Regions from separate parts of the Homo sapiens genome. Here all the other regions are linked to region 4. The links are contacts of gene promoters, found by promoter capture Hi-C in human tissues and cell types (Jung and others, 2019). All regions are on one chromosome and are shown on one strand. The core of a region is centred on a gene start or on the middle of the fragment in contact, and the rest is flanking DNA. Distances in the headings are between cores, read along the strand shown.

Evidence for each region. Contacts are between HindIII fragments. The study calls those that stand out against the background at their distance.
Region 1: the fragment with the promoter of NIPSNAP1 here is called in contact with the fragment with the promoter of SF3A1 in region 4 in 5 of the 25 tissues and cell types used here (IMR-90 fibroblasts, adrenal gland, bladder and 2 more).
Region 2: a fragment that was not itself captured here is called in contact with the fragment with the promoter of SF3A1 in region 4 in 1 of the 25 tissues and cell types used here (small bowel).
Region 3: a contact is called between the fragment with the promoter of ASCC2 here and the fragment with the promoter of SF3A1 in region 4, in 1 of the 25 tissues and cell types used here (hippocampus).
Region 5: a contact is called between a fragment that was not itself captured here and the fragment with the promoter of SF3A1 in region 4, in 2 of the 25 tissues and cell types used here (dorsolateral prefrontal cortex and spleen).

What each region holds. Positions count from the first base shown.
Region 1 is chr22:29,578,896-29,584,593 of GRCh38, reverse strand. It overlaps NIPSNAP1 (nipsnap homolog 1), which reads left to right and starts at 3,481. Exons shown (of 10, transcript NM_003634.4): 1 at 3,481-3,609. The coding sequence starts at 3,512. RefSeq lists a silencer at 3,675-3,724 and an enhancer at 3,708-4,320. The HindIII fragment of the contact is 21,243 bases long and covers 1-5,698 here.
Region 2 is chr22:30,951,214-30,956,781 of GRCh38, reverse strand. MORC2 (MORC family CW-type zinc finger 2) reads left to right here. Exons shown (of 26, transcript NM_001303256.3): 3 at 1-19. Among named protein-coding and RNA genes, the nearest start is that of MORC2, 15 kb to the left of the region's middle. The HindIII fragment of the contact is 6,988 bases long and covers 1-5,568 here.
Region 3 is chr22:29,837,024-29,843,094 of GRCh38, reverse strand. ASCC2 (activating signal cointegrator 1 complex subunit 2) reads left to right here and starts at 4,821. Exons shown (of 20, transcript NM_032204.5): 1 at 4,821-4,917. RefSeq lists an enhancer at 4,489-4,548. The HindIII fragment of the contact is 14,310 bases long and covers 1-6,071 here.
Region 4 is chr22:30,352,398-30,358,276 of GRCh38, reverse strand. It overlaps SF3A1 (splicing factor 3a subunit 1), which reads left to right and starts at 1,383. Exons shown (of 16, transcript NM_005877.6): 1 at 1,383-1,547; 2 at 5,205-5,326. The coding sequence starts at 1,485. CCDC157 (coiled-coil domain containing 157) reads right to left here and starts at 1,270. Exons shown (of 12, transcript NM_001017437.5): 1 at 1,145-1,270. RefSeq lists an enhancer at 1-501 and a silencer at 1,437-1,686. The HindIII fragment of the contact is 21,616 bases long and covers 1-5,879 here.
Region 5 is chr22:29,620,482-29,626,811 of GRCh38, reverse strand. All of the region lies in intron 1 of NF2 (NF2, moesin-ezrin-radixin like (MERLIN) tumor suppressor), which reads right to left. Among named protein-coding and RNA genes, the nearest start is that of NF2, 20 kb to the right of the region's middle. The HindIII fragment of the contact is 8,231 bases long and covers 1-6,330 here.

The DNA.
Region 1 (5,698 bases), core at 2,232-4,731, 780 kb after region 4:
TCTGCCTCCTGGGATCAAGCCATTCTCATACTTCAGCCTCCAGAGTAGCTGGGACCACAGGTGTGGCTACCATGACTGGCTAACTTTTTGTATTTTTAATAGAGATCGGGTTTTGCCATGTTGGCCAGACTGGTCTCAAACTCTTGGCCTTAATTGATCCACCTGCCTCGGCCTCCCAAAGTGCTGGGATTACAGGCGTGAGCCACCGCGCCTGGCCTCTGGCAGCCCCTTCACATACTGAGTACACATTGCTTCCTCTGAGTTTCCGCTGGTCCTTCCCTCTCTCCTGGCAGACTCCTACTCATCCTTTGAAGCTCAGGTCCAAAGTCAGGTTGGCGGAGGTGGTCACTTCCACCACTCCACAGTCAGTCTGCCACGCTGGGTTCCTAAGGAAAGAGCTGCTCCCACCACATGACACCATTTGCTGTGCTTCCATCAACCCACCTGGGTTTTTCCTGAGTGGCTTTGACTGGGGACTCTGCTAAGATCATACTGACTTTGATTTTTTTTTTTTTTTCGAGATGGAATCTCTATCACCCAGGCTGGAGTGCAGTGGCGCGATCTTGGCTCACTGCAACCTCTGCCTCCTGGGTTTAAGCCATGTTCCTGACTCAGTCTCCGGAGTAGCTGGGGTTACAGGTGTGCGTCACCATGCCATGCCTGGCTAATTTTTGTATTTTTATTTTTTATTTTATTTATTTGTTTGTTTTGTTGAGACGGAGTTTCGCTCTTGTTTCCCAGGCTGGAGTGCAATGGCGCGATCTTGGCTCACTAAAATCTCTGCCTCCTGGGTTCAAGTGATTCTCCTGCCTCAGCCTCCTGAGTAGCTGGGATTGCAGGCACATGCCACCACATCCGGCTAATTTTTATATTTTTAGTAGAGATGGGGTTTCATCATATTGATCAGGCTGGTCTCGAACCCCTGACCTCAGGTGATTCCCCTGCCTTGGCCTCCCAAACTGCTGGGATTACAGGCATGAGCCACTGCGCCCGGCCTAATTTTTGTATTTTTAGTAGAGATGGGGTTTCACCATGTTGGCCAGGCTGGTCTCGAACTCCTGACCTCAGGTGATCCACCCACCTTGGCTTCCCAAAGTGCTGGATTTACTGGCATGAGCCACCGCACCCAGCCTGATTTATTTATTTAATTAAAAAATCATAACTCACTACAGCCTGGACCTCCTACCTCAAGTGATTTTCCTGCCTCAGCCTCCTGAGTAGCTGGGACTACAGGTGTGTGCTACCATGCTCAGCTAATTTTTTGAATTTTCATAGATCCTCCTGCCTTGGCCTCCCAAAGTGCTGGGATTACAGGCATGAGCCACCACACGTGGTCCTAATCTTAAAATTATTATTATTTTTTTATAGAGACTGGGTCTTGCTCTGTTGCCCAGGCTGGAGCGCAGTGGTGCAATCATGGCCTGGCCTCCACTCCCCCCATGCCAAGCATAACAGGAGGCAACCACTAGTCAGTGGGTGGACATTCTTTTGGGGAGCTGTCCCTGCCCCTTTGGAAGTGGATAGAGCCCCTGCCCCCTGTGGGGTCTGCAGGCTCTCCACCCCTGCCAATGTCTGTGATCTGGGGGATTGTGGGCTGAGAAGGGATTAGTTTAGAGGGCGGGCAAAAGAGCTGGGCAGGGCAGAAAGAGGCCCCAGGATTTTCAGGCAGAGAAGTCAAAGGGGGATGAAAAGGGGAAAGGAGATGGTGGAGATAAAGTGTCTGCAGCTGACAGCCTTGCCCCTGTCTTCACTTGTAAGGAAGTTTGTTTCTTTGATGGTGATAAACCTGGCATGTGAATGCCTTTCCCCAGAGAATGCACCACAGAGGAGCACGTAACGTTGTATACAATTTCAGGGGGCTTACTGATGCAACCCCTTTGCAGAAATTTTAACAGTGAGAAAATTATGACAGTGAAAGTGATCTGACCTAACCGACTCCATTTTGCTTCTAACCCCCAAACTGTCCATATTCATTCCTGGGCATAGGCCAAACTTACAGTCTTTTTGTTTGTTTTTTGAGACGGAGTTTCGCTCTTGTTGCCCAGGCTGGAGTGCAGTGGCGCGATCTCGGCTCACTGCAACCTCTGCCTCCAGGGTTCAAGAGATTCTCCTGCCTCAGCCTCCCGAGTAACTGGGATTACAGGTGCCCGCCACCATGCCTGGCTAATTTTTTTGTATTTTTAGTAGAGACGGGGTTTCACCCTGTTGGCCAGGCTGGTCTTGAACTCTTGACCTAAACTTCTGATCCACCTTTGCCTCCCAAAATGCTGGGATTACAGGCATGAGCCACCATGCCCGGCAGCAAATTTATAGTTCAACTTTGAAACAAAGATAACAGCCCTCTCCCAAAATAAACCCCTTTCTTGCCTGGGGACCAGACTGCTTTTGTAAGACTAACAAATTAGCCACGAGATTAGAAATTACGGTTTAGGAGTCATGCAGGTAGTGGCCACAGATTCTAAACCTCCCCAGTTGCTCCTAGGGATAACATCACTACTGTAAAACCTAAGATTGGTGCTCAAGATATTTTTCCGATCCTGCACTCAATGGATCCGCTGGCGATACACAGATTAAGAAACCGGATCATCCGGTTTTGTGGCCCCCACCCAGAGATCCACTCAGCACAAGAGGACGGCTTCCACTCCCTATGATTGCATCTCCGACCTGACCAATCAGCACTCTCCACTCTCTGGCCCCTACCCACCAAATTATCCTTAATAAAACCCAGTCTCCGAATTTTCAGGGAGACTGATTTGAGTAATAATAAAACTCCGGTCTCCCATTCAGCCGGCTCTGCATGAATTAAACTCTTATTGCAATTCCTCTGTCTTGATAAATCCGCTGTCTGGGAAACGGGCAAAATGAACCCATGGGGTGGTTACACTGACCCTCTGCTGCACATCCCGGACAGCCTTGTTAAGAACCCTTGGTAGGCTGGGCATGGTGGCTCACGCCTGTAATCCCAGCACTTTGGGAGCACGAGGCAGGCAGATCACGAGGTCAGGAGATCGAGACCATCCTGGCTAACACGGTGAAACCCCGTTTCTACTAAAAATACAAAAAATTAGCTGGGCGTGGTGGCAGACGCCTGTAGTTCCAGCTACTCGGGAGGCTGAGGCAGGAGAATGGCGTGAACCCAGGAGGCGGAGCTTGCAGTGGGCCGAGATCGCGCCACTGCGCTCCAGCCTGGGCGACAGAGCGAGACTCCGTCTCAAAAAAAAAAAAAAAAAAAAAAAGAACCCTTGGTATTATTGTTCCACGCTCCCATTTTACCGAGGTGGATCCTGAGGCCCAGAGTGGGCAAAGGGCTTGCCAAGGTCGCAGAGCGCGCAGAGGATTAGAACCCTGACTTCCGTCCAGCACCTGCGGAGTTGGAGACGCCCACAGGAAACGCCCACCTGACCGGGTGAGTGAGGGGGCGGGCGAGCCGGAGGGGTGGAGTTTATTCGCGCCCCGCCTCCGCCACCAGGGCTTGGGGGCGGGGCCTTCCTGCAACCTTTGCGGCTCCAACATGGCTCCGCGGCTGTGCAGCATCTCTGTGACGGCGCGGCGGCTGCTGGGGGGCCCGGGGCCTCGCGCTGGGGACGTTGCGTCTGCAGCTGCGGCGCGGTGAGAGCCCGGCCAGGCAGGGATAGACGCGCGCGGGGTGGGGTGCAGGCGCGGGGGCCAGGGACTGGGTCGTGGGGGAGGGGCTGAGACTCCTCGCTTGGAATCTGGGGGTTAGAGGCGGGGCAGGATCAAGGCCTAGGGAGGGGTCTGGGCAAAGAATGGGGGAGGTGAGAAAGGGATGGGTAGGGTCTTTGTCCTGGTTGGGACCGGGCTGTGATGGGGACCTGATGAAAGATGGTGAGAAGGGCAGGTACTGGGCCCTGGAGAGTGGGAGAGGGCAGAAGACAGGAGGAGTGGCCCATTCCCAGGCGTAGCTTGTGATTTAACACCCACTGGGGGCTTCTGGTAGTCAGCTCCTCCGTCGGGAAGTTCTGTGGGAAAGAGATGATGGCAGGGGAGCAGTGGGGGATCCCCAGGGGCCATGGCTGCACAGACCCTTTGTTCCTCCACCTCGAACTGTACAGGTGGGGAAACGGACCTGAGAGGGAATGGGAGTTGTCCAAGGTCACCCTCCCTGCTGTGCCGTGGCAGCACCAGGTCTGGGACCCAGGCCTGCCAATGCGCCATGCACTTTGCACCCAACTGGTGGCCTCCTGGGAGTGGGAGTCTGGCTGGGCCATGTGCTCTCAGCCTGGGCTTTTGTTTGGGCCCTGCTCTGGGCTGAGCTAGGGCTTGGCCTCCCTGACTGGCCCTGGGCAGCCCCTCACTCCTTGGTCCCCACAGCCCTGTACTTCCCCCATCTCTGCATATATGACCCTGCACAGTTATGACTTGGTGCTTGTCTGTCTCTCTCACTAGACCATGATCTCATTTTTCTCTGTTTCCCCAGCCTCCCACCCTCAGAGGGCTCAGGACTGTGTATGGTCAAGGAATATTTACCAAAGAAGTGAGGCCACCTGTTCCCCCTCCCCCAACCTGTGAAAAGGAAGCAACCATCCCTCCTGCCCTGCAGCCCAGGAATGAAGCTGCAAAGTTCTGATAGTGCCTGCCATGAGATGTTACAGCACAGAGCAGTGGGGCTTTTGGACAGCTGGGAAAGAGGAGTGGCATAAGCGCCCCACCTAGACTGCCCAATAATTAGGGATAAAGCTGACACCGTGGGAAAAGCCTAGAGTTTGCCTGGCACTAACAGATCTAACTCAGACTTTGTAGGTGGGGTGACCTCAGGACTCTTTAAGCCTCGGGTTCCTCATCTGTAAAATGGGAGTAATCAGGATGTATCTCATAGGGTTGTTGAGGATTAAAGATGCTGTGGTTGGTCGGGTATGGTGGCTCATGCCTGTAATCCCAGCACTTTGGGAGGCCGAGGCAGGCAGATCACTTGAGGTCAGCAGTTCAAGACCAGCTTGGCAACACGGCGAGATCCTGTCTCTATAAAAAGTACAAAAATGGCCGGGCGCGGTGGCTCACGCCTGTAATCCCAGCACTTTGGGAGGCCGAGGCGGTGGATCACGAGGTCAGGAGATCGAGACCATCCTGGCTAACACGGTGAAACCCCATCTCTACTAAAAATACAAAAAATTAGCTGGGCGCGGTGGCAGGCGCCTGTAGTCCCAGCTACTCAGGAGGCTGAGGCAGGAGAATGGCGTGAACCCAGGAGGCGGAGCTTGCAGTGAGCCGAGATCCTGCCACTGCACTCCAGCCTGGGCGACAAGAGTGAGACTCTGTCTCAAAAAAAAAAAAAAAAAAAAAAAAGTACAAAAATTTCACCATGTTGGTGAAAACGTGTCTCTACTAAAAATACAATTAGCTGGGTGTGATGGCTCACCCCTGTAATCCCAGCTACTAGGAAGCTGAGGCAGGAGAATCAATTGAACCCGGGAGACAGAGGTTGCAGTGAGCCGAGATCACGCTACTGCACTCCAACCCGGGTGACAGAGCGAGACTCCGTCTACAAAAAAAAAAGATTCCGTGGTTGTGAAGTGTCTAGCACTTGACGAACATGCAGTAAGTGTTGCTCCTTAACCCCTAGCCTATGTTTCAAGCAATTTCTGCATGTGACCCACATAATGTTGAGGCTCAAAGGGCTCTGGGAAGATCATCTTTTATGAGCCCTTTGTTTTCCAGATAAAAATATCAAGATTGGGGA
Region 2 (5,568 bases), core at 1,905-4,404, 600 kb before region 4:
AGAATAGATATTTATGCAGGTAAGTCAGGCTTTAGTCCTTCTAATGTCTAGTTCATCTTAATGCATTTATTACTGTGCCTAAGAAGAATTGAGTGGGAAATAACTGGATTCGGGAGCCTGGGAAGATGGCATGATTATTCCAGGTCATAGGTAGAAAAGGGGCAGCCGTAGTCAGGTATGGTCAGCTCTGGTCAGGCATAGAAACCAAGAATATTGGTTTCAAGAAACTAACACAAGGTATCCAAATCTATGTAAATAGCTACTAGTAGAGTTATGGAAGTGATGGAGTGGAACAGTAGAGAGTGAAATGACCAAGTTATTTTACTGGTAGGCGTTAATAGGTGAACGAGGTTTGTGGTACCTGCAGCCAAGGAGAGATCTTGTTGGAGGCCACTTTGTTTTGAACTCTTGGTGAGCACTAGTCTCAACTTGGAGAATTGCTGGTATCGGTTGCGGAAAATAGCAGTAACTGGATTGGCTCTGAGGTTTGCTGAGTTGTTCTCAGAGGTGTCAGGAAGGAAGGCTGCTTGGCTTGGAATTTACACCTGTCAACATCCTATTTCGTTTTGCTTATTTGGCTCTGCTGTTTTGTAGTAAGATCTTCTCCTTTTCCTAGAGTGAGTGCAACAGTCATTGGCCTTTTAATTAATTAACTCATTAATTTTAATAGTTTGCTTTCTGCCTGGTATTTGTACTAGCACCTTTTTTAGTCATTTGAATACTAAAAATTTGAAAGCAGAATGGAGGAAGACAGCTTTTTTTTTTTTTTTTTTTTGAGATGGAGTCTTACCTTGTCACCCAGGCTGGAGTGCAGTGGCACGATCTTGCCTCACTGCAACCTCCATCTCCCAGGTTCAAGCAATTCTGCCTCAGACTCCCAAGTAGCTGGGATTACAGGCGCCCACCACCACACCCGGCTAATTTTTTGTATTTTTAGTAGCGACGGGGTTTCACCACGTCGGCCAGGCTGGTCTCAAACTCATGACCTCAGGTGATCTGCCTGCCTCGGCCTCCCAAAGTGCTGGGATTACAGGCGTGAGCCACCACACCTGGCCGGAAGACAGCTTTTAAATACAATTCGACTAGTGTGATGTGTTTTTTTCTGACAGACTTTTCTGAAATCCTCTGAAATGTGTGAGGTGATATTTTGAGTAGCATGAACTAGGTTCTGAGAAGTCTGTATGTTTACATGGGAATGAAATAACCCCTCTTCATGGACCCTTTTGATGAATGGGAACAAGCACACAACTAAGTAGTAATTCTCAGAACCACTAATGTCATATAATTATGAAGAATCTGCCCCAGATTTGATGAATTTCTCATGTCTGCTATACTTTGGAGCAAAGAAAATCCTCAGAGCAGCTAAAAGTCAGCTGTACTGCTTCAATTCTGAAAGCCTTTTGTTCAAAAGGCTCTGCCAAAGTGGTAAAAATAAGGCTTCTTTTCTCTCTAGAAGAAAGTAACAGGAAATAGGGGCACACAGGAAAAGAATGTTAGAAGATGATTACTAAATGCTCAGGCCAAGGCTGGGCGTGGTGGCTCACACCTGTAATCCCAACACTTTGGGAAGCCGAGGCAGGCGGACCACCTTAGGTCGGGTGTTTGAGACCAGCCTGACCAACATGGAGAAACCCTGTCTCTACTAAAAATACAAAATTAGCCGGGTGTGGTGGTGCATGCCTCTAATCCCAGCTACTCGGGAGGCTGAAGCAGGAGAATCGCTTAAACCCAGGAGGTGGAAGTTGCCATGAGCCAAGATCGCACCATTGCACTCCAGCCTGGGCAACAAGAGCGAAGCTCCGTCTCAAAAAAAAAAAAAAAAAAAAAAATGCTCAGGCCAGATGGAGGTGCCTTTCCAAGCCAAAGCATGTATCTTACATCTGAGTGTGCTTTCTCAGGAATGGTAACAGCTACCGCTGGAAAAATAGGGCTTATTTAATCAATGCACAGATGCTAAAGCAGAGAATGGGCCTCTTCTCCAAGTGATGTTGAAGGTACAAATCGTAATGGTCAAGTCTACTTGGAAGACGTTTTTTAAAAAAGATCATCTCTGCTGTCTCCTACTACATTTGGTGGGTAAATTTCAGCAAGGAAGTTTAGTTCCTGACACTCAGAATGAAGTTGGATTTCAATTTAAATGAAAAAGGACCCAGTGTGTCTTTATTCTGTGCTCAGTACAACTCCTGTTATGCTTTGGGAAATGTCCAGAGAGGAGGAGATGGGGGTCTTTGCTTTAAGAACTTAGTCTTTAATTGGAGAGACAATTAATGCACTATGGATAATTAGAGAACAATAACTAGATCTTGAGGGAACAGTCAAGACAGTTAAGGATTAAATGGTGTGATAGAAGCACTAAGCACCATAGCATTTTGGAAAAAGACTTGATTTACTTCAAGTACCAGGAGATTGGGATTCTTGGCTAAGGGATCTTTAACCCTACACTTTTCTACCACAGGGCCTTGTTAACACATTCAACAGGAGAAATCAGTCCGTGGAATCTTTTTTTTTCACCCAGGCTGGAATGCAGTGTGCTATCTAGGCTCACTGCAACCTCCACCTCTCGGGCTCAAGTGATCCTCCTACCTCAGCCTCCCGAGCAGCTGAGACTACAGGCACACACCACCATACCTGGTTAATTTTTGTATATATATTTTTTCACCATGTTGCCCAGGCTGGTCTCAAACTCCTGAGCTCAAGTAATCTGACTGCCTTGGCCCCCCAAAGTGCTGGGCTTACAGGCTGAGCCGATGCGCTTGGCCAGTAATAATCTTAATACTATAAAGTTCTTGTTGTTAGTTCATGGGGGAAAGTATTTTCTTATCTCCACTTCTGAAACTGATTGATAACTGGACTTGGAAATCTTTCCAAACATCAGATGTAGTTTGAAGTCACCACAAAGTCACATTTAAAGACCATTTTTAAACCTAAAAAGGGCAAAAAAGGAGCCAGCCTCTCAAAGTGTAGAGGTGTTCATTTACCCAAAGCATATTATTATTAGTTGGATTATTATTATAGACCATAATATGCCTGTCATAAGCAGACTGTTTTTGTTGACTTTCTTGACCTTCTGGGGTAGGTAGTGCCACCTCCTTGGAAGAAAGATCCTTTTCGTGATGCCAGGGCAATGATTAACACATGGAAAATTGGAGCAAATGAAACTGCAATTAATACTGCTCAAACAGATTGCAGAGTATGATGAAGAACTTGGATGTCATTTTATTGCAGCCTCTCCTGGGGACACCATTATTTTATCACCTTTGACTTTTGGATGTATAGCTCCATTTGACATCTCTTGTCTTTTCCTGCTTTCTTTCTTTATTCTTCCCAGTGGGAGTTAGATGAAGAATGTCTGGCTTGCAGAAGCCAGACTTGGCCATTCTGGGAGATGTGCAGACTTTCAGATTGGCTTTGACAGTCTTACAGAGCTGTTCCCAGGATATGAAGCACAGCTGCAAAGCAGGCAGTTCGGCTTTGCCTTCTCTTACTTTCAAGATGTGTGATGGGAGGCGGGGAACATACAACCCCCAGCTGCTTAGACTCTTCTTTATCCAGAATTCCCCTTCCTTTATCTTTGGAGGCTTCAGATATCACTCAGTTGACTGATTAAATATCAGGTGATAGGAATCTATCTCTATGGTGGAATATATGAGGAGATAGTTTTGAGCAGGGACGCCTTCGAGTTCTTGCTTGCTCTAGTTTAGTGCTTCTCAAAAGGTGGTCCATCCACAGATGTTGTCAATATCATCTTGGAACTTGTTAGAAATGCGAATGCCCCACCTCAGACGTACCCAGACTATCCAGGGGGAGCCCAGAATCTATTTTCACAAGCTCTTTGGATAATTCTTACCCATACTACATTTTGCTCTAGCCAATACTTTTCTAAGCTTCCTTCAGCTTAAACCCTCCTGTCCTTTACTTCCTAGCTTATCTGCTGCAGGCAGTAGAATCCATTAGATGTAAGCTCCATGAAGACAGTGATCGCATATGTACTGTTCACTGCTCTTGTCCTCATCATAACCAGGCACAGAAGAGCTGATCACTAAGTAGTCATTAAATAAACAAGTGATTGGCATAAGCATTTGAACAAGGTGAAGAGACCACACTGTCTGTTTACAAAGTTGAAGAAGTCAATGCTGTCTTAGTCTTTCTTGGCCCTGAGGCAGTATTGCATGTGGCCATGGACCTAGACACTACTAGCCATTTATAGGCTGTCAGTTACTATGTAGCCAGGAGGATCCCCCCAGTGTCATCTCTTACCCTTTAAACTACACGAAAAAGCTTTGAAATGAAGTCCTTGAGCCAGAAAAGGATACCAGCCCCACTGTTAAGTGATGATTGTGTGCTAAAGCAGCCTAAGAGTTCTATCCTAACACAAGAGCCTAGAAAGTAACTTCTTAGGCAGTGTCCAAAGAATGCCAGTAGTCCTTGGGGACTTTTCAGAGGTGCTTGGCTTGAATCAATTTCTAGATCCCAAAGCAGAGTCTTCATGCACATTTTGCGGCTGTAGTGTACAGCAAATGGCTCTTGGCTAGGTTTAGAATGCTGCTTTTACCATTCTCTGTACCTGACCCAGTTTGAGTCTCCTTATGACACTTGGCTTCCTCCAGATGGAAATTTTGAAGCCTTTTTGGACTTTTATTGTACTTATTCTTGATTGCCACGTCTCATTTGGATTCCCCAGACTCTGATTAGAGGCACTGCCACCAGGAGAGATTTTATCTAACCAATAGTACTTCCAGGAAGATCCTCACCCTTGTACTTTCAAGAAGCACTTGTAATTAATGTTCAGCTTCCTGAACACTGAGTGGTACTTGAAAATCTCTGTGGTTTATAGCCTTACAGAAGCTACTCTGGAGGCTGAGGCAGGAGAATCGCTTGAACCTGGGAGGCAGAGGTTGCAGTGAGCCGAGATCACGCCGTTGCACTCCAGCCTGGGCGACAGAGTGAGACTCCATTTCAAAAAAAAAAAAAATAGCATTTTAATTTACATTAATAAGTCTATTTGACAGAGGGCAGTCCCTACTCACTTGAATTTTTAGCCTGAAGAAAGGACAAAGAGCATTTAAAACAGATTTCTCAGCTTAGATAGTTGTACAAAATTGGTTAACTGAAGCTTGGGGGAGATTCCGAAATCATCAGGGACCAGGCTGCAGAGCAGCCTTGGGCTTGCCCTTGTAATACCTTACACAGACCTCTTTCCTCTTAGAAATGCTACCTTTATCCCTGTGCCAGTCAGTAGACTGAATAGCATCTATATGGGAAGTTGGCTTGCTTGGCTTGTGTGGGTCTCCTCCCTATACCTCTGCCTTACATCCTTCTCTTCTTTGTGTCTACCAACTTCCTTGATTCCAAGGCTGGTTTCTCTTTTGCTCACCTAGTCCTCATCATTGGGTCAAAAGGCACCTTGGAAGCTAGTATAGCCTGTTTCCATATTTGGGAATCGCTTCTCCATTGACCATGACATGCTTGGACCCAGACCACTTTCAGTTAACCACTTTCTGCTGCAGAAGACAACTGCTGAGAGAAGACGTTCTTTTCACTAGAATGGCAGCCGTAGTTTGTTGTGTT
Region 3 (6,071 bases), core at 3,572-6,071, 520 kb after region 4:
CAGATGACTAATACAATTTTGGACACTTAAACTCTGGGTAAGGGGTCAACCCCACTCCACACATATTGAAATGGGAGTGACAGTTCCCTAAGGAGTGATCAAGTTGCTATTGGTAGGAAAACAGAGGAAATAAACACTGGATGCCAAACAACAGCTAATCTCAACAATGAGTGCTCTGCAAACACATGCTTGCTGGAGGACTGATGTGCAAAAGAAGGGAACACTGATTCATCTGAGGTGACTCAGAGTGTCTGGGCCAGGCAAGACTCAGACCTAGATATTTCAATGTCTATTTCGTGGCACCGAATATTGACAGTTTTCTCCCTAGTTACCCCTACACTTTGTTGGTTTTAAGAACCATGGACACTCCTCTCTTTTGCCAACCCAAACTATTGTTCTTAAATTAGTTGTTTTTCTTTTAATCTAGAGGAGAAGCCAGGCCAAGAAATTACTCTGTATTTGCATGTTTGCAAATGACTTATGCATGATTTGAGTCCTCTCCTGTTAAACCAGCTTTTAAATTTAATTTCAGTTGGACACATATTAGCTCAGACAAGAATGTGTCCTTTGTAAACCAACATTCCTCATTAAGCTCTTTAGGCAAGGGAGAAAGATGAAAGAAATGTAAAAGTTAACGCTCCAGCTGATAGGGAGTCTCCTTTCTTCCTTCCTTTTCACTAACATTTTTTGAGCACCTACTGTGTTCTTGGCATTGTCTATATTATCTCATTTAAGCCTTCTGTTTTGTTTTGTTTTGTTTTGAGACTGAAGTGCCGTGGCACAACCACAGCTTACTGCAGACTCCATCTCCCAGGCTCAAACTATCCTCCCACCTCAGCCTCCAGAGTAGCTGGGACTACAGGTGTGTGCCACCACACCCAGCTAGTTTTTTTATTTTTATTTTTTGAGAGACTAAGTCTCATTATGTTGCCTGGGTTGGTCTCGAACTCTTGGCCTCAAGCAATCCTCCCACCTCAGCCTCTCAAAGTGCTGGGATTACAGGCATGAGTCACCACACCCAGCCTTAAGCCTTCTAATGATGATGAGGTGGATATTAACTACCTTGTTTAACAGATGAGAAAACAGATATGTTTGGAGAAGTTAGGTGACTTATTGGATGTTTTGTCTTCTTACAGTCATGTTATTTAGTTCCAAAACCTTAGTGATATGAACATCTTTGTACCCATAGGGAAAGATGGAACCAGTGCATATATTTTCTCCAGATCTACTATTTTAAGTTTTTCCTGGACCAAAGGCTGCTGTATGTGATTTTCTCCCAACTAATCACCAAGATACAGATTGCATTTTCCTTGTGCCCAGTGTGTGTGGATGACAGAGAAGAAAAAACAAAATAAAACAAAAACACACAGTTTCTGGCACCTTTTTCTGTCCCTTCCATGTCAGTAGAAGATCAGTTTTCCTAAAAATGACAGCAACAGGCTGGCATGGTGGCTCATACCTGTAATCCCAGCACTTTGGGAGGCTGAGGTGGGAGGATCGTTTGAGCCCAAGAGTTCAAGACCAGCCTGGGCAACATAGTGAGACACCATCTCTACAAAAAAATTAAAAATTAGCTAGGCATGGTGGTGCATGCCTATAGTCACCCCTACTCAGGAGACTGAGGCAAGAGAATTGTTTGAGCCCAGGAGGCAGAGGCTGAAATGAGCCATGATCACACCACTGCACTCCAGCCTGGGTGACAGAGGGAGACCCTATCTCAATAATAATAATAATAATAATAACAGCAACAAAGGGAAACATTCACTGTTCTGACGCAGCTTGTGGCCCTTGAGATCTCTTGGAGCTTGGGGCTAAACAGGGCTGAATTCAAATCCCCACTCCACCCACTTACCAGCTCTGTGACTCTGGTCTAGTCTTTAAACCTCTCTTTAAAATGGGGTCATAATAGCGTCTACCTCTTATCATTGTTACAAAAAGTCAAAGAGCACCTGGCTCAGTGGCTCACACCTGTAATCCCAGCACTTTGAGAGATCAAGACGGGCAGATCACCTGAGGTCAGGAGTTTGAGACCAGCCTGCCCAACATGGCAAAACCCCATCTCTACTAAAAATACAAAAATTAGCCCAGTGCATGCCTGTAGTCCCAGCTACTACGGAGGCTGAGGCAGGAGGATGGCTTGAACCTGGGAGGCGGAGGTTGCAGTGAACCAAGATCGTGCCACTGCACTCCAGCCTGGGTAACAGAGTGAGACTCCATCTCATTTAAAAAAAAAAAAAAGTCAAAGAGATAATATGTGTAAAATGCTTATTCCAGTGCCTGGGATGAAGCAAGGGTTTGACAAATGTGGTCATTATTATCACAACTGTCTTTATCTCTCTGCACCTCTACTTCCTCTGCTGCAGACCTGGGGTTGATATGCATCCTCCAAGTATCTGTGGCAGGCAGACTCTAGAATGGCCTCCATTGATTCACATCTTTTGGTATTCATGCCCTTGTGTAATCCCCTGTGGGCAAATCCTGTGACTTGCTACTAACAAATAGAACATGGCAAAACTGATGTCACTTTCTTGATTAGGTTACATGAGGTTGTAATTTCTCTCTTCTTAGTAGAATCTCCTATTGCCTCCTTTTGTTTGTTTGAGACAGGGTCTTGCTCTGTTGTGCAGGCTGGAGTGCAGTGGTGTGATCACAGCTAACTGCAGCCTCGAACTCCTGGGCTCAAGCAATTCTCCTGCCTCGACCTCCTAAGTAGCTGGGACTACAGGCATGCACCAGCATGCCTGGCTAATTTTAAATTTTTTTTTGTAGAGACGAAGTCTCGCTATGTTGCCTAAGATGGCCTCAGACTTCTGGGCTCAAGCAATCTTCCCACCTTAGCCCCCCGAAGTGTTGGGATTATAGGCATGAGCCACGGTGCCCGGCCCCTATTGCCTTCTTTTATTTATTTATTTATTTTTAATTTTTAGAGACTGGGTCTTGCTATGTTGCTCAGGCTCAATTTGAACTCCTAGGCGCAAACAATCCTCCTGCTTCAGCCTCCCAACCTGCTGGAACCATAAGCATGTGCCACCACTCTTGGCTTCCCTATTAACTTTTAGGCTTGCATGCTTTGATGAAGCAGGCTGCTACACTGGAGAAGCCTACGTGACAAGCCTTTAGCCAAAATCCAGCTAGGAACTGAGACCCTTAGTCCAACAACCATTAAGGAACTGAATTTAGCCACTAGACATGGGAAGCAGATCCTTTTTGAGTTGAGCCTTTAAATGAGACTCCAGCCCTGGCCGATATCTTGATTGCAGTCTTGTGGGTGACCCTGATGCAGAGGAGCCAGCTATGCCATCCTCAGATTCCTGGCCCACAGAAAATGTGAGATAATAAATATGTTTGTTGGCCAGGTGTGGTGGCTCACGCCTGTAACCCCAGCACTTTGGAAGGCTGAGGCAGGCGGATCACGACGTCAAGAGATCGAGACCATCCTGGCCAACATGGTGAAACTCCGTCTCTACTAAAAATACAAAAATTAGCTGGGCCTGGTGGCTCATGCCTGTAGTCCTGCCTACTTGGGAGGCTGAGGCAGGAGAATCGCTTGAACCCACTGTAACCTCCGGGAGGCAGAGGTTACAGTGAGCCAAGATCACACCACTGCACTCCAGCCTGGTGACAGAGTGAGACTCTGTCTCAAAATAAATAAATAAATAAATGTGTTTGTTATAAGTGGCAAGCAGTGTGTTGTTATAAGTTTGTGGTAATATGTTATGCAGCAATACAAAACTAATATAATATCCAGCCCCTCTCATCTCATTTCTGGTTTACAGCCCATCTCTCCTATTTCCTTAGCACCCTGCATTCATCACACTGACTCATTGCTATTGGTTTTCTTGCACTTCCTATCCTGTAAGCCCCTTGAAGACAGGCACTGAACTAAGCATTCCTTGTAGCCCTAGTGCAGATAGCAGGGGTTGGCAGGAGTGTCCTGGGAAATATTTCACAATCCCAGGGTGGGGTTGTGTTCTCCATTCGGGGGCTTCTATAACACCCCAATAATGATGGTGGTTGGTTTTGAATTCTTACTGTGTACCAGGCACTGAGATGAAGCCAGGAATGTGTGTTCTTAACAAGTTTTCTGTGATGATTCTGATCCATAGTCAGGCTTAGGAACCACTAAACCTACATTACCTGAGACATTCTGTAGAAAAAATTGCATCCTTCTCTTAGGATAGCTATACTTGTAACTTCCTTAAACAAAACAGAACAAAACTGTATTGCATACATACAGAAAAATGCACAAATCTTAAGCGTACAATTTGATGAATTTTCCAAAGTGAACACATCTACATGGCTACCACCGAGATGAAGACAGGGGGTGACCCCAGCCTCACTTGTGGCCCCTCCCAGCCCACAGCCCCAGAGGAAACCACCAATTTTAACACCATCACTACTCATGAGTTCTGTCTGTTCTAGAATTTCCCGTAAATGAAATCGCAGTCTGTACTTGTACATCTGCTTAACATTATGTTCGTGCTTTTGACTTGTTAAAATTTCTCTTCTGGATTAAATATGTAAAACGGTGACTAAGGAGGTCGGGCAGAAGGTGGAAGCCTGGGATTCCGAGACGTCCTCTCAGGTGCCATACTTGGATTTCCCGAGAGGTGTAATCACACAGCCCGCCCTCAGCTGACCTATTCTCTGCTTAAGCAGGAAGGGAGATAGGAGGGGAAGGGGGCGTGGCTACAGACGCCGAGTGTGGGGCGGAGTCTTAAGAAGAGAGGCGCAACCCGGGTCCGGCTTCCCGGCGGTAGTTTGCTCGGCTCTGGGGGCGGGGCCAGGCCGAGACTTCCTGTCTGCTCCTGCGGAATCGCAGTTTGACCCCGGAAGTGCGGGCGCTCAGGGAGCTGTCACCGTGGTCGGCGGCGGCGGCGGCGGCGGCGGCACAGAGCCGGTGGTGGAGCCGCCGAGGTGAGTGCGTGGCTGGTCCCTGCCAGATGCAGGGCAAGGGACCCCGGAGGAGCCGCGGCTATGCCTTGGGCAGCCTTGGCTCTCCCATCCTCTGGCCTCCATTGCGGGGCCCACGCTTACGCTACCTGAGGGGTTGTGAGCCGCCTCTCGAGACTTGGCCGCCAGGGTCAGGAGCCACGGGTTCGAAGTTCGGCCCCAGAGTGGCGTTGGACCAGCCACGATCCCCCCACGTCCTCACACCCGGGGCTTCAGTTTCCTCAGGGTTCATTCATTCGTTCAGCAAATATTTGTGGAGTGCTTCCTATGTGCCAGACACAGATCTAGACATTGGGGATACAAAGAAAGCAAGACAGACAAGGCTTCTGCCCTCATGGAGCTTACAGTCTAGTGGGAGGAGATGGTCAACGACAAGCAAATGCACAAGGTCATTAAAGCTATGACAGTAACTGGGAGAGTGGATACTATAGGCAGAGCCATCAGAAGGTCTCTGAGGAGAGTAGTATTTAATTGAGAGACTAGAGGAATGATGACAAAGAGGCTGAGGGAGCAGTAGCCCCGGGGATGCTCCCAGGCCATATTGCAATTGGGTGCTTGTAGGGAGCTCCCCCTCCCTTTCTTAGCTTTTGGCTTTTGCTGTCCTGCCTGGCAGGGGAATACAGTGGTGGGCACAGACATAGTCATGATTATTGTTTGTCCTTTTGGAGCTCAAAGTTCAGATTGTCCAGTTAATTTATTTTTTCCCCCCAAGACGGGGTCTTGCTCTGTCGCCCAGGCTGGAGTGCAGTGGCGTGATCTCGTCCCACTGCAACCTCCGCCTCCCGGGTTCAAGCGATTCTCCTGCCTCAGCCTCCTGAGTAGCTAGGATTACAGGCATGCACCACCACGCCCTGCTAATTTTTTTTTTTTTTTTCGGTAGAGACGGGGTTTCACCTTGCTAGCCAGGATGGTCTCGATCTCCTGGCCTCGTGATCCGCCCGCCTTGGCCTCCCAAAGCGCTGGGATTACAGGCGTGAGCCATCGCGCCCAGCCCTGCCTACTTAATTTGTACCCGTGCTTTAGACAAAAACTCAGGTCTTCCTTGACATCACTTCTTCCTCAAGCCAGGTCTCTCTTTTAAATGCTGCCACAGCTTCATGAGCCTTATCTACATAGCT
Region 4 (5,879 bases), core at 134-2,633:
CATCCCAGCTATCATTATTCTACATTAATAACAACCATGACACACAGCTACGATGTGTGTGGGGGGAGGGGGAAGACTTGAGAGAGCAACCTTTCCTATCACTCCCTCATTTCACAGGTGAGGAAACTGAAGTCCAGGAACAGGTTCGGAGCCAGCTCCCCGCTTTCCAGAGTTGAGGAGAGGAGGAAGGAGAGAGGGGGGAATCGCAGGAGAGGGAGAGAAGCCGGCGGGATTCGAGGTAGGCCTCTGGGGAGCGAGCCGCATAGCTTGCAGGGCTGCATCTGTGAGAGTGAGGGGTGAAGCCTAAAGCAGCAGCCCTGCGTGATGGCTCATGCGTGTAATCCCAGCACTTTGGGAGGCCAAGGCGGGAGGATCGCTTGACCCCAGGAGTTTGAGACCAGCCTGGGCAACATAGGGAGACGTCCTCCCATGTCCCTACAAAAAAAAAAATTTAAAAACTGGCCGGGCGCGGTGGCTCACGCCTGTAACCCTAACACTTTGGGAAGCCGAGGCGGGCGGATCATTTGAGGTCAGGAGTTCCAGACCAGCCTGGCCAGCATGGTGAAACCCCGTCTCTACTAAAAATGCCAAAAAAAAAAAAAAAAAAATTAGCCGGGTGTGGTGGGCGCCTGTAGTCCCAGCCACTCGGGAGGCTGAGGCAGGAGAATCGCTTGAACTCGGGAGGCGGAGGTTGCAGAGAGTCAAGATCGCGCCACTGCACTCCAGCCTGGGTGACAGAGCAAGACCTTGTCTCAGAAAAAAAGAAAAAAGAAAGACAAAGAAAGCAGCAGCCTTGATTTGAGAGGGAGGCCCCCAGTGGGGCTTGAGGGCGGGACTACGGAAGGCAGGGGATGGAAGCAAGAAAAGGCAGGTTCCGTGGGAAAAGCGAATTAAGGGCGTAGGATTTGGAAGCGGGGCTTGGAGGATGTGGGTCTGAAATGAAAGGGGGGACTAAGGGAGTAGGGAAGTGGGGCTCTTAGGCGGTGAGCCTGAGGGGACAGGGGCTCTCCTAAATGAGAGACCAATGGGAGGGAGCTGGGCTCTTGGAAGGCGGGGTCGAAGGGAGCGAGGTACTGGCCTGTGGAGTAAAGGAGCCGCGAGGTGAGTGCGGCGGGGGTCCGGCGGGTGACGTACAACATCTCACCTGTCTTCGGCGTCGCGGCTTCAGCCTTCGTGTCTGGTCGGCTCCCGGAACTGCCCCCGGTGCGCCTGCGGCCACCGGGATCCCCGAAAAGCCCTAGCCGGGCGCTCAGGCCGCTGCCTTGGCAACGGCGTCGGACGCCGCGGTGCCCGCGGGGAGGGGCGGGAAGCGCGTCACGGCGAGGGGACGGTCCCGGAAGTGCGCCAGTCGTACCTTCGCGGCCGCAACTCGCTCGGCCGCCGCCATCTTGCGAGCTCGTCGTACTGACCGAGCGGGGAGGCTGTCTTGAGGCGGCACCGCTCACCGACACCGAGGCGGACTGGCAGCCCTGAGCGTCGCAGTCATGCCGGCCGGACCCGTGCAGGCGGTGCCCCCGCCGCCGCCCGTGCCCACGGAGCCCAAACAGGTACCTCTCCCCCGCCCCTCAGCCTGCAGCCGGAGGGTTGGCCTGGGCGCTCCTTACTCGCACAGGAATAAGCGGCCGGCCGCTATGAAGGGCTTGGAGGGACTGCAAGTCCCAAGAGGCTGCGCGCTTCCCGCGCTATGGTGGTGTTCTGGTAGCGAAATGAGCCACCCTGAACGGGATTCTCTAAGTGGTCCGCGGAGCAGCCCCGTCGGCACGAGCCGGGAGCTTCTTAGAAATGTGGAGTCTCCGCCGTAGATCTTTTAAATAGGAATCTACATTTGAACAAAATCCTAAGGTGATTGATTTATAAGTGCGAGAGGCGCTGATCCAGCCCATCCTCTGATCTTATGTAGCAGTTGGGGCCGCCGGCCACAGCCTTTCCCCAGTAATGGCTAATTTCCCAGCCTGCACGGTACATCTTTGGATGTTAATTCTCAGCATCTATTTCGGTGTCTGCCCCAAGCCAGACACCGTGCCAGGCTCCCACATTACCGGAATGAATGGGGCATGGTCCCTGCCTAGGGAGCTCACAGGCTAACGAGAAGACAGACATATGAGAATGCTCACCAAATGTTTGTTGTCCCAATGGCCATCGATGATACAGTGCCAGCCCGCCCTTAATAAAGCTCTCCAATCTCGAATGTGCACAAACCATTGTAGTATGGTGTGATATGCCCTGTGATAGAAGTTTCAGGTACAAATCTAATGAACATTGTTTGCTGGGCTAGAAGGGATATTAAGGTAGGGAAGCCCACAAGAGTGAGAGGTAAATTTCTTTTAGAAGAAGGAATAGGAGTTTGCCAGGTAGGTGACTAGGGAAGGGAAATAGCATCCTTTATTCATCCAGCAAATATTTATTGAACACATACGCTGATCATTGCTTTGGGTTCAGAATAAGGGGGGCGGGGGGGGGGAACATGACTGAAGAAGCCATGCCTTTTCCACAAATATTTAAGTGCCCGTGTGTCCCTGGCATTTTCCCAGGCATTGGGGGAAAATAAGGTAATAGCCAGATAATATGCGCAAAGACACCGAGGTGAATCAAACGGTGTCTCTGATCAAGAGTAAATGAACAAGTGTTGAAGCATAGACTTAGGAGCGTAGTGGCAGGAGATGCGATTCTTACTTAGGATTTGAACTTTTCCTTGTAGACAGTGGGAAGAAAAGGGAGTGTTTTAAGCCAAATAGTGACATTTGTGTTTCAGAAATTCAGGTAGGCAGACGTGTGGAGAATCACTATGAGGGGAGGCCAGTCACGCTATTCCAAAGAGGCTGAAGGCCTGGCCGAGATTAGGGCAGAGGGGGTAGGCAGGCTCTTCAGCCAGAGTGGTGTGTTAGAATCCTGGTTCTGCCAGTTGGACATTAAGCTCTCCATCTCTCAGTTTTGTCATCTGTAATGTGGAGATATTAAGAGTTCTTGGCCGGGTCCAGTGGCTCACGCCTGTAATTCCAGCAGTTTGGGAGGCCGAGGCAGACAGATCACTTGAGGTCAGGAGTTTGAGACCAGCCTGGCCAACATAGCAAAACTGTCTCTACTAAAAATAAAAAATTAGCCAGGTGTGGTGGTGCATGTTTGTAATCCCCACTATTCGGGAGAGAATTGCTTGAACCTGGGAAGCAGAAGTTGCAATGAGCCAAGATCATGCCGCTGCACTCCAGCCTGGGCGACAGCAAGAGACTGTCTCAAAAAAAAAAAGAGTACTTAATCTTATAGGCTTCTTCTAAAGGTTATAAGAGTTAATATATTTAAAGTGCTTGGGAAAAATACCTGGGATCTACTCATAGCTTGATAAAAGTTTTTTTTAAGAGACCGGGTGTCGTTCTGTCACCCAGGCTGGAATGCAGTGGTGCAGTCATAGCTTACTGCAGCCTTGAATTCTTGGGCTCAAGCAATCTTCCTACCTCAGCCTCCTGAGTCACCGGGATTATAGGTGCAAGCCATTGTGCCCAACTTGATAAACGTTATTATCATCGAGTGTGGAAGCTGAGGAAGAGAGAGGAGCCCCCAACTTTCTGGCATGGGTGACTGGGTAGCTATTCCTGAGGAAAGAGGTTAGAGATGAAAGTGCCCAGTAGTTAGCTGCACCTGAAGCTGTTTAGTACACAAGAGTGTTCTGGGACATCAGTTTGGGCCAGATTGTTTAGTCTAGAGGCGGAAGGGGAAGTGGAGGACACCAAAAACTGAGAAGAGAACCAAGAACAGAATTGGGCGGTGGGAGTGGGGATCTCCAGCTTCACAGTGCAGGAGGTGAAACGGGTCAGGAAGGAAACTTGAATGGAATGGTGAGCAAGATGGGAAGACAGGCAAGAATGGGGCCTAGGAGTTGAGAGTTTTGTGAAGGAGTGGTCACCATTCACGCCCAGATAATGGCTGTGGGCAGTTGTTTTTGACTTTGTCAAGAGCACTTAAAATGAATGGGGACCAGATGGGAGGCAGGGAAGTGGGACCAGCAAGACTGAAGAGAACTCAGGATGTTTAGCTGCCAGAGGAAGGTGTGGGAGAAGGCAGCGGCAGAAAAGAACATGAAGGCAGAGGAGAAACTTCGTTTCTCTAAGATAAGAGACTTGACCCTTTGTTTACTAAGGGGAAGAAGCTGCTGGTGAAAAAATATTGGTACTTATGGGATCGTTAGTGCTGAGCCTTCCAGTGGAATTTCACAAAACACTTGAGCATTGAATGTTGGTTAAGACAGTGGAGTAGAGGCAGAGAGGGCATTCAGGGCAGAAGAATTTGTCAGCAGATAGTTTCCCATTTCTTTATTCAGCAAACAATCATTAAAAATTCCATGCCAAGCCCATCGCTGGGTGCAGGGTTACAGACATGGCCTGGATTCTGGAACATGGTTTCTCAGAATGTAGTCGGAGTCCCTGCATCTGAATCACCTGGGCATTTGGTAATGTAGCAGGACGAGTCGCAGACAAAACTCCTCAGACACCGGATTAAAGAAGGAAGAGGTTTTTTATTCATCCGGGAGCGTCGGCAGACTCGTGTCTTAAGAGCCGAGCTCCCCGAAAAAGAAATTCCTAGCCCTTTAAAGGGCTTACAACTCTAAAGGTCTATGTGAAAGAGTCATAATAGATCAAGTAAGCGTGAGGAACGTGACTGGGGGCTACATACATCAGCTAACAGAACAAAAAGTTTTACAGTGCTTTCTCATACAATGTCTGGAATTTACAGATAACACCAGTAGTTTTGGTCAGGGGTTAATATTATTATTATTTTAACCACCAGGGCCAGGTGGTGGCACCAAGGTCGTCTAGCTATTTATCTTACTTCTGTTTCTTTCCAACTTTTTGCTTTCTCCCTTTTCTCCTGTCTTATAAACTAGGGAAAAGGGGAGGTTGGGGAGAAACTGGGAAGGACAACAGGAGAAGTGCTGGTCTCATACCATAGTAAAAATGCAGATTCCTGGTCTCACTGAGATAGTCCAGTGAGAGAGGAGCCAGGGAAGCTGCTCTTCTCCCTGGGTCCCCAGGAGCAGCCCCTGCAGGTGCAGTGAACTTAAGAGAACTGCTTTTCTGAAGTAGAGGGTTCTAACCTGAGGGAAGTCTGTGAATGAAAGTCTACTCTGAATGATATCCTAGAGGAGTTTTACAGTGGAGAACCTGCTCTGAACCAGGGACTTTAAAACCTTATTTCTTTTCCTGTTTGCACAGCCCACAGAAGAAGAAGCATCTTCAAAGGAGGATTCTGCACCTTCTAAGCCAGTTGTGGGGATTATTTACCCTCCTCCAGAGGTCAGAAATATTGTTGACAAGACTGCCAGCTTTGTGGCCAGGTAACAGAGCTACTTGGGTGGGTCAGAGGTGGGTTTCAGCATGAAGAGACTTCAGCACTGAATCAGCACAAGGGTTTTTAAAGAGACGTTGTTGGCTTGGGCCTTTTAGTTCATAAAAAACCACAACATGGCACTGGGGTAGGCAATAGGTAGGACTGGTGTCCCTGACACAGCATAGCAGTGGCCAAAGTGAGAATCACACTTAGCCCCACAGTCACCAGGAGCCTCTGCTTCTAAAACTGGCCTGAGGAAATGCCTGGAAAGCTGCTTCATCACAGATGGTGTGTGTCTGTGCCTGAGCTGCTGGCCTGAGGAAGATAAAAAGGGGAGTTTATTATTCTCATTGTACAAAGACCACATTCCAAGAGCCTCAAATGACCCATCTGCAAAATGGAAAAAATGCCATCTCAGAGTTGTTGTGAGGCGGGAGTGAGGTCATGGGGCTGCATGCAGTTCAGTTCCACGCGGGTGCTAGTCACCTCCTCAGATGGCATGGGCATTGCTCCGAGTTCCTCCTGTCTCTCCTCACAGTTCCATGCAGGTGCTAGCCGCC
Region 5 (6,330 bases), core at 2,022-4,521, 730 kb after region 4:
GGTTAAATTTCAAATGCCTAAACATCAAGTACAACTAGCAGATTACGAAACACAACCCCTGACTAAGTATCAACCAACTGGTTACTCCTGCCCTGGACAATGTAAAAATTGTGGTTAGTATGTAACAATGCATTCCTTCAAAAAAGCTCCAGCACAACAGAGCTAGAGCATGATCCATTCATGTGAACTAGCTTCTATTGAACCCAGATGTTTGCCTGGAAAGAAATTTTGAATATTCTCTGTTTCTAGCTTGACCTTTTGATTAAGTCTCATGGTCATCAATGATAATAAAACTGACTTTAATAACATTAGAAGGTACAGGCATGAGTGGATAGGACTGGTAAAAATATCTGCAGATGGGGCTGGGCGTGGTGGCTCGCACATGTAATCCCAGCACTTTGGGAGACCGAAGCGGGTGGATCACGAGATCAAGAGATCGAGACCATCCTGGCCAACATGGTGAAACCCTGTCTCTACTAAAAATACAAAAATTAGCTGGGCGTGGTAGCAAGCACCTGTAGTCCCAGCTACTCGGGAGGCTGAGGCAAGAGAATCGCTTGAACCCAGGAGGCAGAGATTGCCATGAGCTGAGATGGCGCCACTGTACTCCAGCCTGGTGACAGAGTTAGACTCCATCTCAAAAAAAAAAAAAAAAAAAGTCTGCAGATGGATGAGAACTACCGTGGGCTGAAGACTAACATATTTATGAGACTGATTTAATCTCAAAATCAATATGATTAAGCAAGTAGGGAGATGCACTGTTGGTGAATTTAAAACCACAGATCAGTCGAGATACATTTAGTAATTACTTTGGGCTTCAGTTTTAAGTTTTATCTGAATGTCAAACTATCAAAACTATTGAAACAAGAAGACTAAAACAGGCAAGGTGGAGGGAAAAGCTATAAGCAACATAACTCACTAAGAGAAAGTTTATATGAAGTTTTCAAAGCTCGGTCCAAATTTGGCAAAGAAGCAAAAAAGAGAACAGTGGCAAAAGAGTTGGAAGAGAAAAGGCTGTCTTTAAAAATGATGCAGTCTGGCACCACCTAGTGGTGCCACACAGATTCCTGCACTAGGACAAGCACCTTGTGTCAACATGAGTGACTAAAGATTCCATTAAAAATTTTTCCCTGAAGTCAGCACTACTTTGGTAATAAATTTTGACACGCTAAAAATGTCCTAAACATGTGGATTTAGAATCTAAATTAGACAAAGCACAGACAGGAGGACAGAACACATCATCCTGTAACAAGAATTGAGAAGCCTCGTCACCAGCTGGCTAGAAAGATTAGCAGCTCTGAGAAAACTCAATTCTGGGTTTTTAAAACCTCAAACGCTTTAGTTTATGAAATTAAAAATAAACAAGCAGCAAAAATGTTCTTGGACAGGAATGCAAAACTAGCATGAATAACTGGAGAAGTCATCAAAAACAAAGAAAAAAGAAAAATTTCAATATGACACACTAGGGACAAAAGAATGCAGAATAATTAACTATGGCAGAAATCCGAAAAGAATCCTGCTATCACCGTGGACATCAAGCTAAATAGAGATTGTATTACTTAGCATGTTACAAAAAAGAAGATCTGGCCGGGTGCAATGGCTCGTGCCTGTAATCCCAACACTTTGGGAGGCCGAGGAGCGTGGATCACGAGGTCAAGAGATCGAGACCATCCTGGCCAACATGGTGAAACCCCGTCTCTCCTAAAAATACAAAAATTAGTGGCGCACGCCTGTAGTCCCAGCTTCTCGGAAGGCTGAGAAAGGAGAATCGCTTAAACCTGGGAGGCAGAGGCGGAGGTTGCAGTGAGCCGAGATCTCACCACTGCACTCCAGCCTGGCAATAGAGCAAGAAAAGAGAAAGAAAGAAAAAGAAAGAAAGAAAGAAAGAAAGAGAGAGAGAGAGAGAGAGAAAGAAGAGAGAGACAGAAAGAGGAGAGAAAGAGAAAGAAAGAAAGAAAGAAAGAAAGAAAGAAAGAAAGAAAGAAAGAAAGAAAGAAAGAAAGAAAGAAAGAGGACCCTTCAACAAGAACATGGCATAAGGTGAGTCCATTTTATTTGGACTAATTATAGTTTAGAGGGTCTACAATTACAAAGGCATGGACAATCTGAATAAGGTTCAAAGAAAATGAAGGCAATGATTAAAGGAGAAAATTCACAGTGCTTCTGGCATGAGACACTTCCTGTTCCCACACTCCCAGCCCATGACAACATAGATAGGTAACATTTATCAAATGCTCACTACGGGTCAGGCCCTGAACCAAGTGCCTGTAAAGGTCCACCTCATTCATGTCTCAAAACAACCCTGGCCAGGCACGTTGGCTCACACCTGTAATCCTAGCACTTAGGGAGGTCAAGGCAGGAGAATCACTTGAGGTTAGGAGTTCCAGGCCAGCCTAGCCAACATGGCAAAACCCCATCTCTACTAAAAATACAAAAATTAGCTAGGCGTGGTGGTGCACTCCTATAATCCCAGCTACTCAGGAGGCTGAGGCACGAGAATCGCTTGAACCCGGGAGGCAAAGGTTGCAGTGAGCCGAGATCGTGCCACTGCACTCCAGCCTGGGCAACAGAGGGAGATTCCGTCTAAAAACAAACAAACAAAACAAAAAAAACCCTATAAAAAAGATACTATTATTCTCATTTTATAGATGCAGCAACTGAGGTTTAAAGAGTTAAGTTCAAGGTCACTTGGGAAGCAGGTAGCAGAGGCAGGGCTTTTCCCAGGCCAATTTACCCCTTCCATCAGGGCTGTAGCTCTTATTCTTTAAGCAATATTCTTCCTGTCCTCTAGCAGACTTCCTCATGCCTATACACTCAAGTCTTGAGATGACTTCCTACCAAAGCAGGAAATATGAAAGGGAGAGGAGCACAGTGAGACTCTTCTGCCCAGATCACCTAAAATAAGACGCTAAAGCTGAGGGCCTTTGAATGTGAGTTCTTCCCCTCATCTTTCAGAAGAACTGAGGCCTGGGGGAAATAAGTGATGCGCCCAAGGTCACACGGTGGAGCTCTGCCTAGAAGCCTGGTGTTCAGACATCGGTTTAGGGATCTTGATGATTTTACACAAGTAAAACGATGCAGGAACCAGACAAGAGAAAGTGCACTGACTTCCTGAGCTCAACTCTGGCCAGCTTGATCCAACTTCCCTTCTGCCTGACTGACTTCGGAGACTGAGGACTGGCTTTGGACCTGAGAATCTCCTGAATCTTGAGCCTAGCAGGTCTTCTGCTCATTCTTGGTCACAGAACACCCTAATCTCTAGATTCACTAGATGCTTACATCTGCCTAGTTTTGTCCCAACCCCCAGCAAGTCCCACTGCTGTTCAGGTTTCAATGTGATACCTTGCCCAAAGCGTTTGCCTTCTAATTGTTTCCTACTTCCAACCTCTCTCTCCCTACCCCAAACCCCAAACGTTCCAAATCATTTTGCATGCCAACCACTTTAAATCACACTTCTAGTAAAAACTTCAAAGCTCTTCATCGCATCTGATGAATACAAGCCTCTTTAACCTGGGCTTCATGAGCCTCCAATATCTAGCTTGAAGCTACCAATTCACACACATCTCTAGCTGGGCATGTTGGCTCATGCCTGTAATCCCAGCACTTTGAGAGGCTGAGGCGGAAGGATCGCTTGAGCCCAGAAGTTCCAGACCAGCCTAGGCAACATAGCGGGATCCCATTTCTTCAAAAAAATTAGCCAGGTATTGGTGGCATGTGCCTGTAGTCCCAGCTACTTGGGAGGCTTAGGCAGGAGAATCACTTGAGCCCAGCAGGTCAAGTCTGTAGTGAGCTGTGATAGCACCACTGCACTCCAGTCTGAGTGAGACCCCATCTCGAAAAAAAAAAAAAAAAAAAAAAGGCCGGGCACGGTGGTTCACGCCTGTAATCCCAGCACTTTGGGAGGCCGAGGCAGGCTGATCACAAGGTCAGGAGATCGAGACCGTCCTGGCCAACATGGTGAAACTTCGTCTCTACTAAAAATACAAAAATTAGCCATGTGTGGTGGTGCACACCCATAATCCCAGCTACTCAGGAGGCTGAGGCAAGAGAATTGCTTGAACCCGGGAGGTGGAGGTTGCAGTGAGCAGAGATCACGCCACTGCACTCCAGCCTGGGCGACAGAGCGAGTCTCTGTCTCAAAAAAAAAAAAAAAAAAAAAAAAAAATACAGGGTCTTCCAAAACTGAACTGTCAGTGAGAGGGAAGCGGATTGTAAAAGTCAAAGAAACAATGTCGTCTGAACAGTTAACTAACTTTTCAAAATCCATACATGAAAGAGTCTCAGAATAAAGATGTTACCAATTGCTATCTAGGTGGGCATACCAAATATTATAAGACACCAGGCTGAATACAGGCAGGAGCATTCTGACTATGTTAAATATGCAACTAGACAATGCTTAACTGTTATAACATAAGCCTCATTTTAAGCCAAAGGTAAGGAATTCTCATTATATCATGAGCAAGTGAAAATGATTCACTTACAGAAAATGTCCACTTGATTCAAAATGACAAACTAGACACTGAGGTAATGTAGCACGGATCGTTAGTCATGTCATTCATCCGGCAAAAATGTAAGCCACTGGCAAGTTTACAAAATGCTTTTGAGATAGTATCATACACCAAATGCAATAAAATAATGCCATAGGCAAATAGTTGTTAAGTTGAGGAAGTCCTTCAAATGATCTCTTCTTTCCACTTTCTTTTTCCTGTTTACCAAATACCTAAGTTCTCTCCAGGTTTCTAACTTTTTCTCTCCTACTTCTCTTTTACGCTTCCTATTTGGGTAGCATAGGGTAGTGGAAAGAGGGCTGGCCTGAAAGACAGATGACCTGGCTTCAAATCTCAGTCCCATCACTTAGAAGCTATGTGGTGACTTTGGACACAAAGAAGAGGAAACCCTTGAGCAGAGCCTAGAAGGAGAATGAGTTCAGTTCTGCCAAGCAACAAATGAGAATGGCATTCCAGGCAAAGAGAACAGCCTATGCAAAGATGTGGCAGTGTGAAGGAGGGACCAGGATAATAGGCTCAGAGCAAGAGGGTGCGTGAGGAAGTGGAGGAGAGGCTGAGAAAGGGAGCAAGCTAACGACAGGCACTGAACTTATTTCCTTTTTATTTTTTTAATTTATTTTATTTATTTATTTTTTGAGACAAGGTCTCACTCTGTCACCCAGGCTGGAGTGCAGTGGTGCAATCAGGAAGCTTATGGCAACCTCGACCTCCCAGGCTCATGTGATCCTCCCACCTCAGCCTCCCGAGATGCTAGGACCACAGGTGCACACCACCACAACCGGCTAATTTTTGTATTTTTTGTAGAGATAGGGTTTCGCCATGTTGCCCAGGCTGTTATTTCTTTAGGTAACAACCATTATATATAGCACTTATCTTGTGTTAGGTACTATTCTACGTACTTTACCAGTAATTACTCAAATTTAATTCTTGTAACACTATGCAGGAAGAATTAATTACATTCACCATTTTACAGTTAGGGAACAGAGGCATGTGAGGGGGTTAAGGAGCTTTAAGGTTGCAAAGCTGGTTAGAGGCAGAGCCAGGAATCAAACTCTGAAGTCTATGCTTGTAATCTCTAGGCTATGCTGCCTCAGCGGCCCCAACAAGGAAACTGAAGCTTGAGTTAAGATTTGCTCAACTTACATGTCAGCCTCAATGTGAGGTTCAAATAAGCAACTGCAGGCTTTACTGGTCGATATTAAGTTAAAGGGTGTGCCCATCTATTCTCCCTATTCTCTCACTACCTACCTGTCCCTGTCCTATTCTGCCTCTTTCAGAATAGATAGTGGCTGCACTAAGCCTTTAAGCATGCTATGTATCCTGTCTGAGCCTCTGTTTCCCCACTTAAAGATGAAGTCAGTTACAGAACCTAGGTCCAAAGTAGTCCTTGATCACTGCTAGGAGGTGTTCCCTGCCTGGTCAACGTGGGCACCCAGTAAATCAGAGCTGCGTGTGGTGGTTCACACCTATAATCCTAGCACTTTGGGAGGCTGAGGCAGGAGGATCCCTTGAGCACAGGAGTTTGAGACCAGCCTGAGCAACCAACGTAGGGAGACCCCCATCTCTATTTTTTTTTTTGGAGTCGGAGTCTCTCCCTGTCATCCAGGCTGGAGTGCAGTGGCTCAATCTCAGGCAACCTCCACCTCAGGCAATTATCCTGCCTCAGCCTCCCAAGTAGCTGGAATTACAGGCACATGCCATTGCCCCCGGCTAATTTTTCTATTTTTAGTAGAGACGAGTTTTTCCCATGTTGGCCAGGCTGGTCTTGAACTCCTGACCTCAGGGATCCACCTGCCTCAGCCTCCCAAAGTGCTGGGATTAC